Linked DNA regions of Homo sapiens: region 1 is linked to region 2. The links are contacts of gene promoters, found by promoter capture Hi-C in human tissues and cell types (Jung and others, 2019). All regions are on one chromosome and are shown on one strand. Each heading gives the region's core, a stretch centred on a gene start or on the middle of the fragment in contact. The rest is flanking DNA. Distances are from core to core; before and after follow the strand shown.

The links. The method cuts DNA at HindIII sites, captures the fragments that hold promoters and counts their contacts. A contact is called where the count stands out against the background at its distance.
Region 1: a contact is called between the fragment with the promoter of PHF20 here and the fragment with the promoter of ITCH in region 2, in 1 of the 25 tissues and cell types used here (lymphoblastoid cells).

What each region holds. Positions count from the first base shown.
Region 1 is chr20:35,769,164-35,775,840 of GRCh38, forward strand. It overlaps PHF20 (PHD finger protein 20), which reads left to right and starts at 2,852. Exons shown (of 18, transcript NM_016436.5): 1 at 2,852-2,916. It also overlaps the pseudogene LOC124904972. RefSeq lists silencers at 2,920-3,299, 4,304-4,598. The HindIII fragment of the contact is 9,618 bases long and covers 1,810-6,677 here.
Region 2 is chr20:34,361,434-34,367,320 of GRCh38, forward strand. ITCH (itchy E3 ubiquitin protein ligase) reads left to right here and starts at 1,840. Exons shown (of 25, transcript NM_031483.7): 1 at 1,840-1,916. RefSeq lists a silencer at 2,145-2,374. The HindIII fragment of the contact is 21,756 bases long and covers 1-5,887 here.

The DNA of each region.
Region 1 (6,677 bases), core at 1,602-4,101, 1.4 Mb after region 2:
AGGGGCAGGTCATTCCTCTCTTCTTTCCCTGGCAGGCTGGACTCATCCATGTGACCTGAGATTGGCCAATCGACAGTGGCTGCTGGCCAAGACCTTGCCTCTTGAGTGAGTGACTCAAAGACAAAGGGATACTAAGATTGAATCACAGCAGTGGTGCGCAGTGTTGCTGGGGGCAGCAGCTGTTGTTGCTCTTTCTTGGTGGAGCTGTCCTTGTGCCTGTTTGTTTTCCAAGCCTGCACTCCTGTTGTAGCTCAGGGGCCCTTGTAACATATTTCTCTTTTGCTTGCCATGATTACTTCACCAGTCTGTGAGCTCCTCGAGAGCAGGGCCTAAGTCTCATTGTGCTCTGAGTGTTTGGTGCCCATCTTGAATTTGACTCTCGGTAAATGCAGGTTGAATAAGTAAAGAAACATGCTATATTTATACGGGGCTACAGAGTCTGGAGTTCTTGGCATTATTGTGGTTGGGGGGCAAAAAGTTCTTTGTGTGCTACCATAGCCACTGACATCTGAGCAATTTCATATTAATAAACATAAACCCAGAGGATCTTGGGAAGGCCCTTCCTATATGTGAGCACTTACTTGACTGAGTGGCACTGATTCTCAAATTGCTGATTTTTTAAAAAGTATGAAATGTATCATGAATTTGCATGCTTATCCTTATGCAGGGGTCATGTGAATCTTTTCTGTATTGTTACAATTTTATTTTATTTTATTATTATTTTTTGAGATGGAATCTTGCTCTATCACCCAGGCTAGAGTGCAGTGGTGCTATCTCGGCTCACTGCAACCTCTGCCTCCAGGGTTCAAGTCATTCTCCTGCCTCAGCCTCTCAAGTAGCTGGGACTACAGGCATGCACCACCACACCTGGCTAATTTTTGCATTTTTAGTAGAGAGAGGGTTTCACCATGTTGGCCAGGCTGGTCTCGAACTCCTCACCTCAGGTAATCTGCCCGTCTTGGCCTCCCAAAGTGCTGGGATTACATGCGTGAGCCACCGCGCCCAGCCATGTTACAATTTTAATAGAATACATGTACTGCCCAAGCAAGTGTAGCTGAAGCTTTTGTCCCTGGTTCCACAGTGTCTCTACCTAAGGGCTGCTCTTTGCCCTGACTACCTCAACTGAGGCAATACCCTCCTTAGTTTCCAGCCCTGGTTTAAAAAGCACCCCTCAGGCTGGATTTGCTGGCTGAGGCCTGTAATTCCAGCATTTCTGGAGGCTGAGGCAGGAGGATCACTTGAGCCAAGGAGTTTGAGACCAGCCTGGTCAACAAAGTGAGACCCTGTCTCTAAAAAAAAAAAAAAAAAAACTCGGCCGGGCACGGTGGCTCACGCTTGTAATCGCAGTATTTTAGGAGGCCGAGGCGCGCGGATCATGAGGTCAGGAGTTCAAGACCAGCCTGGCCAAGATGGTGAAAACCCGTCTCTACTAAAAAAAATATAAAAAATTAGCTGGGCGTGGCGGCGTGCGCCTGTAATCCCAGCTACTTGGGAGGCTGAGGCAAAGAATTGCTTGAACCCGGGAGGCAGAGGTTGCAGTGAGCCAAGATCGCACCACTGCACTCCCGTCTGGGCTACAGAGCGAGACTCTATCTCAAAAAAAAAAAAAAAAAGTGGCCAAGTACGGTGTTAATTCCAGCACTCTGGGAGGCTGAGGTGGGTGGACTGCTTGAGCCCAGGAATTCAAGACCAGCCTGGGCAACATCGTGAAACTGCGTCTCTACAAAAAAATGCAAAAATTAGCCAGGTGCACACCTGTGGTTCCAGCTATCTGGGAGACTGAGGTGGGAGAATTGCTTGGGCCTAGGAGGTGGAGGTTATGAGGAGCCGAGACTGCGCCACTGCACTCCAGCCTGGGTGACACAGTGAGACCGTGTCTCAAAAAAAAAAAAAAATTAGCTAGGCATGGTGGCATGGGCCTGCAGTCCCAGCTACTCAGAAGGTTGAGCTGGGACCACAGGTGCGCACGTTCACGCCTGGCTAATTGTTGTATTTCTTGGAGAGACGGGGGTCTAGCTATGTTGCCCAGGCTGGTCTCGAACTCCTGAGCTCAAGTGATCTACCCACCTCAGCCTCTCATAGTGTTGGGATTACAGGCGTGAGCCACTGCTCCTGGTCTCATATTCTTTTGGGGTGGCTTCAACTCCGACCTTCGTCCCCAGAGAAAATACAGCTCCTTATCCTTAGCAGCAATTGGAAACCTTTCTAGGAGTTAATGATAAAGTGGGGGAGAAATGAGTGCAAAGGCTCTGAGATGAGAAGAACCTGGATTGTTAGCGGAGTTGAAGGACACTGAGAATGTGGGGGAGCTGGATTCGTGAGGATAAGAAAGCAGCAGGTCAGGTCCAGACTTTGAAGAGCCTGGTAGATAGTCTAGGTGAAGAGTTAGATCTTAATCCGGAGTAGGGAGGGAAACGAGCTTTGAGCAGGGGATGGCGTTTTGAAAAGACCTCTCTGCCGGTGTACGAAGAATGGATTAGAACGGCGAAGAGTAATAGGGTGGAAACCATCTTCATCTTGGAGAGAGATGGTGGTCGCTTCGATGGAGAAATGGGAAGCTTTGAGACGCATTTAGGTGGCAAAATTAACGGGTGATGGATAGCGTCCATTCCCCGGCTTCGGTGATCTCAGTGATTACGAGTGAGTGGGGACTTCGTGTTCCTGCTAGGGCGCGGGCCTGTTTCCCGCGCGTCAGGGTAGTGGGCGTGGCCTGCGCAGGCCGTTGCCACAGTGATCGGGCAGACGGGGCAGGGGGCGGGGCAGCTGGGACCTTACGTCACTCGGTGGTGGCGATGATGCGTGTGTGTGGGGGGCGGGGCATACGCTGGGCGCGTCCCGGGGGTCACGTGGTGCAGAGCACGCAGAGTCCTTCTGTCGGTTGGTCCTGGAGCGGCGCAGCCGGAGTGGGGCCGTGAGGTGAGCTCGCGGCCAGGCGAAGCCGGCCGGCCGGGCCGGGTTGGGCCGGGCCCGCGCTGCGCGCGCGCCGTGCGGGCGGGGACGGCGACGGACGCCACCGCTGCTTCGGTCCCCTGCCCGGCCCCGCTCCCCGCCTGGCCCCGCTCGCCCAGCCTGGAGGGAGGCCCTGGGACTGCTGCTGAGAGCGTGGCGGGCGTGCGAGCGGTGCCCAATCCCCGGGGCTACCCGCAAGAGTGGCGGCGGCTGCCGCCAATCAGCGCCGCCCGAGGGGGCTGGGCCGTGGGGTGCGGGCCCGGGGCGCGGAGCGGGCCGTGTTGGGGGTGCGGGTAAGCCCTAGGGCCCGAGCCTGAGCTGTGTGGGCACCTAGAGCCTCATCAGCAGCCTCTGCTATTGCCTTGCGCTTTGGGAATATGTTTTTTAAAATTGGCTTTTTTTATCCTATTCTGGGGAGCACATTCCTTTCTCAAGACCCCAAATATGGGAGTGTCCCTTTTCTCTATAGTTTTGAAAACTGGGCGGCACACCCCCTTTCTTAAGCTCTAGCTCTGGAATTTTATCTAAATTTCTAAAAGCCCTCCCCCCCCCAAATTTAGGGCGTACCCTCTTCCGTCAGCCCCCAAAGTGGGAGCACATTCCTTTTTTCGGGCCTCCAATTTGATTCTGCATTTCCGTTCCAATTTAGAGGTTCACCCTGTTATCGGGTCCTCAGATCTGGGGTCCATTAGCTAAAGTTTTGGGATACTTTCTTGTATCCCCTCTACTCCAAGGAAGAATTCCCCTTTTCCAGGTCCCAAATCTGACAGCATGCCTTCTGGAATTTCTTACATTTAGGGGCCACTTCCTTTCCTCAGCCCTTCAAACCTGAGGTTGGGCCGAAAACAATGTCCAAATTTTGAAGTTTATGGGTACTTATTTCCAGTTTCACAAATAAGGGAATTCACTGCCTTCTCCCGAGACTGTATTATTGGGGTTACACACTTTTCACGTGTTCCCCAAATCAAACTACCTTATTTCCTGAAGGAGACTCATTTTCATATCTGGGAGTATATTTGTTTCTTGTGCCCCCCAAATGTACGAGGTGAACCCCTTTTAGTTATACAACTCTCAGAGTGCAGCCACTTTCCAGATGCTTCTTAAATTTGGGGGGCACACCTTTTTGTGAGTCCTCTCATTTCCAGGTGGCGAGTGGTCTGTGGTTTTGAGCATGCCTTCCTACCCTGTTTAGCTTTTCTGTCATCCAAGACATTTTCATTCCTCAGTTTCCTTCCCTTTTTGGAGCCACACTCCCCTTGAGGTGCTTTCCCCAGTCTGGTCAGTGCACCCATTTCCTCTTCCTCTGGCGAGTGCGTATCTTTGTTCAGCACGGCACTTTTCTCTGTGCTTCTGCGGGCTTTTCTTCTGAGCACACTTCCCAGAGTCACACCTCCTGAATTCTCCTCTCCTCCCAGGGAAGGATTCCTCTCCTAAAGGGCTACCAGCACATTGTTTTTGATAGGCCTATCTTTTATCTTTCCGCTAGCAGGATCTCTTCTCTCTTGGCTTGCCCAATCCCCAAACATTTTTCTGGTTTCTGTCTTTCTTTGGAATTGTTCTGTTTACCTAGTGGCTATAAAGATTTTCCTTGTGCTGGAGGTGGCCTCAAGTCTAGGACTGCCTGGGCCCCCAGCGCTGGATTCAAAGTGGAAACCATTTCTTTGGTTAATCACAGGACTCTGAATCCTCCTGGTGGTTTACTTCTAGAAGACCTAAGATTCTGTTTAGGTGCATACTGTTTTCTCCTTTGCTTTATCTCCTTGTGCTGGAAAACAAAAACAAACAAAACTCTCAGATTTTTCCAGCACTGCTTCTAGCCCATAAACTTCTTCCCTATATTGGCTTTCTTACTATCTTTTATGAAGAAAAGATGTCGTTTGGAGGAATCCCTTGGATACTCTTTTTGTTCTTGTCCCTGGGGTGTCGGTGGGGAAATGGATATTTTTCTCTCCCAATCATCCTCTTGTCAATCTTCTTTTTTTTTTTTTGAGACAGAGTCTCGCTCTGTCGCCCAGGCTGGAGTGCAGTGGCGCGATCTCGGCTCAGTGCAAGCTCCGCCTCCCGGGTTCACGACATTCTCCTGCCTCAGCCTCCCGAGCAGCTGGGACTACAGGCACCCACCACACCGCGCCCGTCTAATTTTTTTGTTTTTAGTAGAGACGGGGTTTCACTGTGGTCTCGATCTCCTGACCTCGTGATCCACCCGCCTCCGCCTCCCAAAGTGCTGGGATTACAGGCGTGAGCCACCAAGCCCGGCCAACCTCTTGTCAATCTTTACCCCCAATCCTCACATTAAAATCTGCAAATATCTGGGACCTCCTATCTCTTAAGAGCCTCAATAGTTCTTTCTTTTGTGTTTCCTTCTGCCTTTACAGATCTTATTCAGGGCTTCTCAGCCTGAACCCCCAACCAGATTAATTTCTCCACAGCTGGAATTCCAAGTGCTTGGGGATAATGATACCTCTGACCTTTCTTCCTTTTGGGAAGTACTTGAGTGTGCAGCTGCATGAGGCCTCAGCAGGAGAGAGATTTTAGGTCCAAGAAGCTATACCAGTAGGACAAGGCAGGAAAATACTACACTTTCAGGATCAAGCCCCTCTGACTCTCATTTGGAAACTGGATGTTTGCTAAGCACCTGCTTCTTAAGGATGCCGAGGGATTTAATGATACTCCCAGAAACCTGGAGAGATTAATGGGGCCTATGGAGAAGTGCTCTGAACTCAGTGTTGGGACTTGAATAAAATTAACCATTGTCATGTTTTCAGAACAACTAAGCTGTTTTATATTTCATGTGCATGAAAGCCCTAGAACTAAGTTGTGTTATTTCCAGAAATGAAATAGATCCCACAGTTAGATGATGTGGCCATTAGGAAGTACCAAATTTATAAAAATCACTGGAGGTCTGTCTGAGCAGTACCTAATAAAATATAGTATACTGAAAGTGAACAGATACTTTGTCTCTTTCTTTGGCTGCTTGATACTTTATCTGTGTACTGCCGTACAGTGCACCCTTAAAGTATTCTACACCAGTGCTTCTCAAACTTGAATGTGCATGTAAGTCACCCAGGGGTCTTGTTGAAATGCTGATTCTGATTTGGTAGATCTAGGATGGGACCTGAATGCATTTCTGATTTGCAGGTGATGCTGATGTTACTGAACTACACTTTTAGTAGTGAGGTTTCATACACGAAGACAAAGTTTCTCTGTGAAAATAGGAAGGTGGTGGTTAGCCTTATATTTTTTTATTTTATCTTTATCCAGACACACATCCCTTAAAAGTTTGTACAAGGCCATAGTCCCCTTTATTAGTTATACTCAATTAGTTATTCTAGCACATAGCTTTTTAAATATTGGCCAAAACTGGCTGGGCACGGTGGCTCATGCTTGTAATCCCAGCACTTTGGGAGCTGAGGCGGGCAGATCACGAGGTCAGGAGTTCGAGACCAGTCTGGCTAACACAGTGAAACCCTGTCTCTACTAAAAATAGAAAAATTACCTGGGTGTGGTGGCAGGCACCTGTAATCCCAGCTACATGGGAGGCTGAGGCAGAATACTTGCTTGAACCCGGGAGGCGGAGGTTGCAGTGAGCCAAAATTGCACCACTGCACTCCAGCCTGGGCCACAGAGTGAGACTCTGTCTCCAAAAAAAAAAAAAAAAAAAAGGCCAAAACTTCTCCAGGAGTTTGGTTTCTGTGTGTATATATATATATTTTGGGTGGGGACAGGGT
Region 2 (5,887 bases), core at 590-3,089:
GTGATGGCATGCGCTTGTAGTCCCAGCTACTTAGGAGGCTGAGACAGGAGAATCACTTGAACCCAGGAGGCGAGCGGAGGTTGCAGTGAGCCAAGATTGCGCCACTGCACTCCAGCCTGGGCGACAGAGCAATACTCTGTCTCAAAAAAAAAAAAAAAAAAAAAAAGAGACGGGGTTTCACCATGTTGGCCAGACTGGTCTCAAACTCCTGACCTCAAGTGATTTGCCTGCCTTGGCCTCCCTAACTCCTGGGATTACAGGTGTAAGCCACTGACCCTAGCCAAGCCTAGGAGTCTGAGAACAGCCTGGGCAACACAGGGAGTCCACGTCTCTACAAAAATAAAAACAATTAGGATAGTGTGGTGGCTTGAGCCTGGAGTCCCAGCTACTCAGGAAGCTGAGGTGAGAGGATCACTTGAGCCCAGGAGGTTGGCTGCAGTGAGCTATGATTGCACCGCTGCACTCCAGGTTGGGTGACAGAGCAAGACTCTGTCTCAAAAAAAAAAAAAAAAAAAAAGTCACTTTGAAAAATGTGACTTTCCAGATGGCAAAATACTATTTTCATTAGGAGGAAACAGGCTAAACAGTAATAGCAAAGGTCACTAAGTATTGAGCACTTAGTCATACCTCTGAGTCTCTGCCTGCATAGCCTATTATTTCTCACAAGCAATCCATGAAGAAGGTTAAGACAACGGACTTTCACGCCAGACTGCCTGGGTTCTTATCAAGTATGTGACTTAGTTTATATATTTGTAAAATGGGGATAATAATGGTATTTCTGTAATAGGTTTGTTGTGAGAATAAAGGGAGCTTGGTATCAGCTCTTAGAATACCGGACAGGCCACGTTGGCTCCACTAAGCTGTTGTCATCATCCCTAAGGGCACCCAGTTAAAAGGTAGAAAAGGGAGGATTTGAATCCGGTCAGTGTAACTCTCAAGTGTACATTTTTTTTCTTTTATTTTCTTTTTAACCACGCCCTTTAATGTACATTGTTAAAGGCTAAGCCAGGCCAGGTGCAGTGGCTCACATCTGTAATCTCAGCGATTGGGAGGCCCGAGGAGGGAGTATCGCTTGAGCCCAGGAGCTGGAGACCAGCCTGGGCAACATGGCGACACCGTGGCCCTATTCCCGCCCCATCCCATCCGCACTCCACCCCATCCCCATCTCTACAAAGAATAGAACAAAATTAGTCGGGTGTGGTGGTGCTCAACTGCTGTCCCAGCTACTCAGGAAGCCCAGGTGGGAGGCTCGCTTGAGCCCAGGAGTGTGAGGCTGTAGTGAGCTATGACTGCACCACTGCACTCCAGCCTGGGTGAAGGGTGAGACCTTATCTCAAAAAGAAGAAAAAAAAAGAAAAGGAAAAGAAAAAGAAAAAAGAACAACTAAGTTATAAACTAAGCTATATAGCCCATTGGTTCTCAAATTATGATTTCACTCACTAGCAGTATCACTAGACAGCTTGTTGGACATGCAAATTATCAGACCCTATCCTCCTATGCCAGATCTTCTGATCAGAAACTCTGGGGGTGGGGGTCAGCAGTGTAAGTTTTAATAAGCTCTCTAGGTGATTCTGATGCACACCATAGTTTGAGAATCACAGTCCTTATAGGCTCTGGTGGGCGGGGTGTTAAAAAAAAAAAAAAGCCTGGAGGTGCTGGGAGCCGCTCGCGCCCATCTCACCTGGAGCTGAGGAAAACTGGGATTTAACTGATTTACCACCGCAGCCAGCTCTTCAAGCCAGGGGCGGGCCGGACGGCTGGCGCGCAAGGCCTGCTGGGGCTTGTAGTCTAGACCACTTCCGCGCTCAGGCGCCTGCGCTTTAGCTGCTAACTCGCTCTAGTAGCTGTGGTCGGGGCTCGGGACCGGCTGCCATCTTAGTCTAGGGACTGAGGAGTCGCCGCCGCCCCGAGTCCCGGTAAACCCCCGTGGGCGAACTCGGGGCAGTTCTCGGGAGAGGGAGGGAGTCCGGATGAGAATGTTCGGGGAGAACAAGGGTAGAGGAGTGGGACGCGCGGTTCGGGACCCCAGAGCCGCGGCTGCTCCTTCTTCCAGAGCCGGTGTCTGTCGGGGGCGCGGGGAGCTCGGGCTACTGGCCCGGGCCGGGCGGTGGGGGTGGGCTGTCTGGACGTTCGGAGGGATCAGTGTCTGGCACAGGCTTCCGGAGGCCTTCGCCTCGCGGGCTCCAAGTTGTGAAAGGGCTGGGCCACGACGGGCGTGGGTACCGTCCGGCCCCTCGCCCCTCAGCCCCGCCTGGGGCCACTCTCCAGCGGTTCGGCCTACGCGCGGGGCCCGGCGGCGGGGCCGGCGCGGGCGACGTGGCCCTGTGAGGGGCGGCGGCCGGGTCCCCCGCCACCCAGCTGGCCTTCTCGAGACTTTTCCGAGCCCCCAGTCGCTAGAAGGGCCCAGCACAGCGGCTGCCTCCCCTTCTCTCTCCCACTCGCCTCCTCCTTCCATTGTCCCCCCGGCGTGGTGGTCCCGGCTCCGGCGCCCTCCCCGACGTCCGCCACCGTCGTGGCGGCGCCGACTTTTGCAGACGTGGAGCTGTCACTGCCCTTCCTCCGGAGAGTGCCCTTTTCTTTAGCAGAGAAAAGAAAAAAGTAGCCGTTGAACGTATTCTAAGGGTCGAAGCATGATGACATGACTTTTAAGTGGAGAACTCAAGTTTTCCAAGACAGTTCCCGTCCGCGACAGAAAAGAGAATCGCAGAATTTGTGCGCCCGAAGTAGACGCTGGGCCTAAAGTTAGTTGGACATGTAACCAGGTGAACTTGTAAAGGGCCAGGAATTCATTATCCCCAATAACAACGCAACCTTGTTTTCTTGGTTGTATTCGTATCCTAATCTTATTACATTTTCTGCCATTCTTCCACAGCTACAGTATACTTGGTTTGGAGTGGGGGATGGGGAATTGTGGGATTTTTGCCTTGAAAATTAGTAAGACCCTGGAGCCAGCCACCCACTTAGGTGGGTTCTCCTGCATCTTTTCCTGATAGAATTCGATCTTCAGGAAGTATGTAAAGGCAGTGTATTTCCATTCTCAAAATCGGCTAAGGAATGGTTTATCAGTTGAGGTGAAGTTCTCATGGCAGATCTGCTGAGAGCTTGCTATGTGTATTTACAGGTTTATTTAAGCTACGATTTATTTTTAAAATTAAGAAATGGGCCGGGTGCTGTGTGTGGCTCACGCCTGTAATCCTAGCACTTTGGGAGGCCGAGGCGGGCAGATCATGAGGTCAGGAGTTCGAGACCATCCTGACCAACATGGTGAAACCCCGTCTCTACTAAAAATACAAAAAAAAAAAAAAAAAAATCCTGGGCGTGGTGGCGCGCGCCTGTAGTCCCAGCTACTAGGGAGGCTGAGGCAGGAGAATGGCTTGAACCCGGGAGGTGGAGGCTGCAGTGAGCCGAGATCTCGCTGCTGCACTCCAGCCTGGGCGACAGAGCGAGACTCCGCCTCAAAAAAAAAAAAAAAAAAAAAGCAATGGGATGGGTGTGGTGGCTCACGCCTGTAATCCCAGCAATTTGGGAGGCCGAGGTGGGCGGATTACGTGAGCCCAGGAATTGGAGATCAGCCTGGGCAACATCGTGAAACCCCGTCTCTACAAAAAATACAAAGATTTGCCGGGTGTGGTGGCAGGCGCCTGTGGTCCCAGATACTCAGGAGGCTGAGGTGGGGGAATCACCTGATTCCGGGGGGTCGAGGCTGCGGTGAGCTGTTACCGTTGCCACTGCATTCCAGCCTGGGTGACAGAGTGAGACCCTGTCTCAAAAAATAAAAAAAAAAATTTAGAAATGAAGGTGGAAATTCTACTGCTTCTTTGAACTGTGAATTTAAGTTTTGTGAGTCCAAAAGGAATTCCATTACATTCAGCATACAGGTCAAGTCACCAAGGATATCATATGAAATTAAAAAAATGAGTACAGACTACTTCTTCAGTGTATTCTAGAATCAAACATTTCTACATTCTTTAGAAAAAAATACATCTTTTTCGTTTGTTTGAGACGGAATCTAACTTTGTCACCCAGGCTGGAGTACAGTGGTGTGATCTCGGCTTACTGTAACCTCCGCCTCCCGGGTTCCAGCAATTCTTCTGCCTCAGCCTCCGTAGTAGCTGGGACTACAGGCGCGTGCCACCACTCCCGGTAATTTTTTTGTATTTTTTAGTAGAGATGGGTTTTCACCATATTGGCTAGGCTGCTCTCGAACTCCTGACCTCGTGATCCACCTGCCTTGGCCTCCCAAAGTGCTGGGTTTACAGGCATGAGCCGCCACTCCTGGCCCTAAAAAATACATCTTTTCACTTATTGGGAGAGGCAGACAAACCAGTAGTCCCCAAATTTGACCATTAGAATAATTAGGAGAGCTTAGAAATTCCAGGGTCTTACCTTCTGAGATGGATTTAGTAGGTCTGGGTTGGCTTCAACCAATTTATTTTTAACACATGCCTTAGGTAATTCTGATGGTCTTGGGAACCACTGAGGGCAAATGGTACTGTAGACTTACCAAGGAAAGGTCAAAAAGCTTTGAGACGAAAGAGGAAGTGGCCAATTCTGTGTGTGTGGCTGGGTGGAGGATTGGTTAGAAGAGGCAAGATTTGCCCCTGAACCCACATTGGGTCTTACATGAAGAGTAGGAGTGTGAAAAGGGCGGGGAAAGAGAAGGACAGGGTAGGCTGAGTGAATGCCTTAATGCTGTGTGTAAATTCAGAGGATTATGGAACAAAAAGGGTTCAGGGAGTGTGGAGTGGAATGGGGAAGGAGAGCATTTTGAAACGCAAGGTCAGAAAGGTTAAAGGAAGCAAGTATATGAAAAGTGATTTTTTGTTGTTGAGACTGGGTCTCACCCAGTCACGCAGGATGGAGTGCAGTGACAGGACCTCCAGAGCTCAAGTGATCTTCCCACCCCAGCCTCCCTGAGTAGCTGGGACAACAGGCATGCATTAGCATGCCTGGCTAATTTTTAAAATTTTTTTGTAGAGAAAGGTTCTCTTTACGTTGCCCAGTCTGGTCTTAACTCCTGTGTTCAAGTGGTCCTCCCACCTTGGCCTCCTAAAGTGTTGGGATTACAGGTGTAAGCTACTGTGCTCTGGCTAAAAATTTTAAGTATAATGCTAAAAATTTGGAATTTTATGTTGGTAGAAATAGATACAGGGCTGGGCTCAGTGCCTCACACCTGTAATCTCAACAGTTTGGGAGGCTGAGGCGGGTGAATCGCTTGAGCTCAGGAGTTTGAGACCAGCCTGGGCAACATGGTGATATCCCGTCTTTACCAAAAGGAAGGAAAAAAAAAAGAAATAGATGCAGATTTTTCGACAGGGAAATGATGTGAGTACATATGTGTTTTAGAAAATTGCTGTGTACTGCAGGACAAAGATAGGTATCAAAAAACAAAAAAAGAAAGATTGCTCTGGTGATGAGCGAAAGGATGAGGGACTAGCTATTGCAGAAGTCTAGTTGAGAAATGACAAAGCCTGACCTTGGAGAGAGGTTGTGGGGATGATCAAAGGATTGGATTTAGCTTTTTACTAGTGCAATATTGTTGCCATATTTCTAGATGAGGATTTTTTTTTAGAGCTAATCTGGGTAAAGGGCTCCTTTTCTGTCAAAAGAACCCATTAGCAAGTCTGAATAATATTGCCAGGTTATATATGTTATGTATAGTATGAGAGTGAATTGTTCATTAGCATCTTTGAGAAATTAGAAAGAACTATGTCAGGTGTAATTTGGAAGAGAACTTGAAGTTTGTTATTGTTACTATTTTTGAGATGGAGTCTTGCTCGGCCATGCAGGCTGGAGTGCAGTGATGTGATCTCGGCTCACTGCAACCTCCACCTCCCGGGTTCAAGCGATTCGTGTGCCTCAGCCTCCCAAGTAGCTGCCTCCCAAG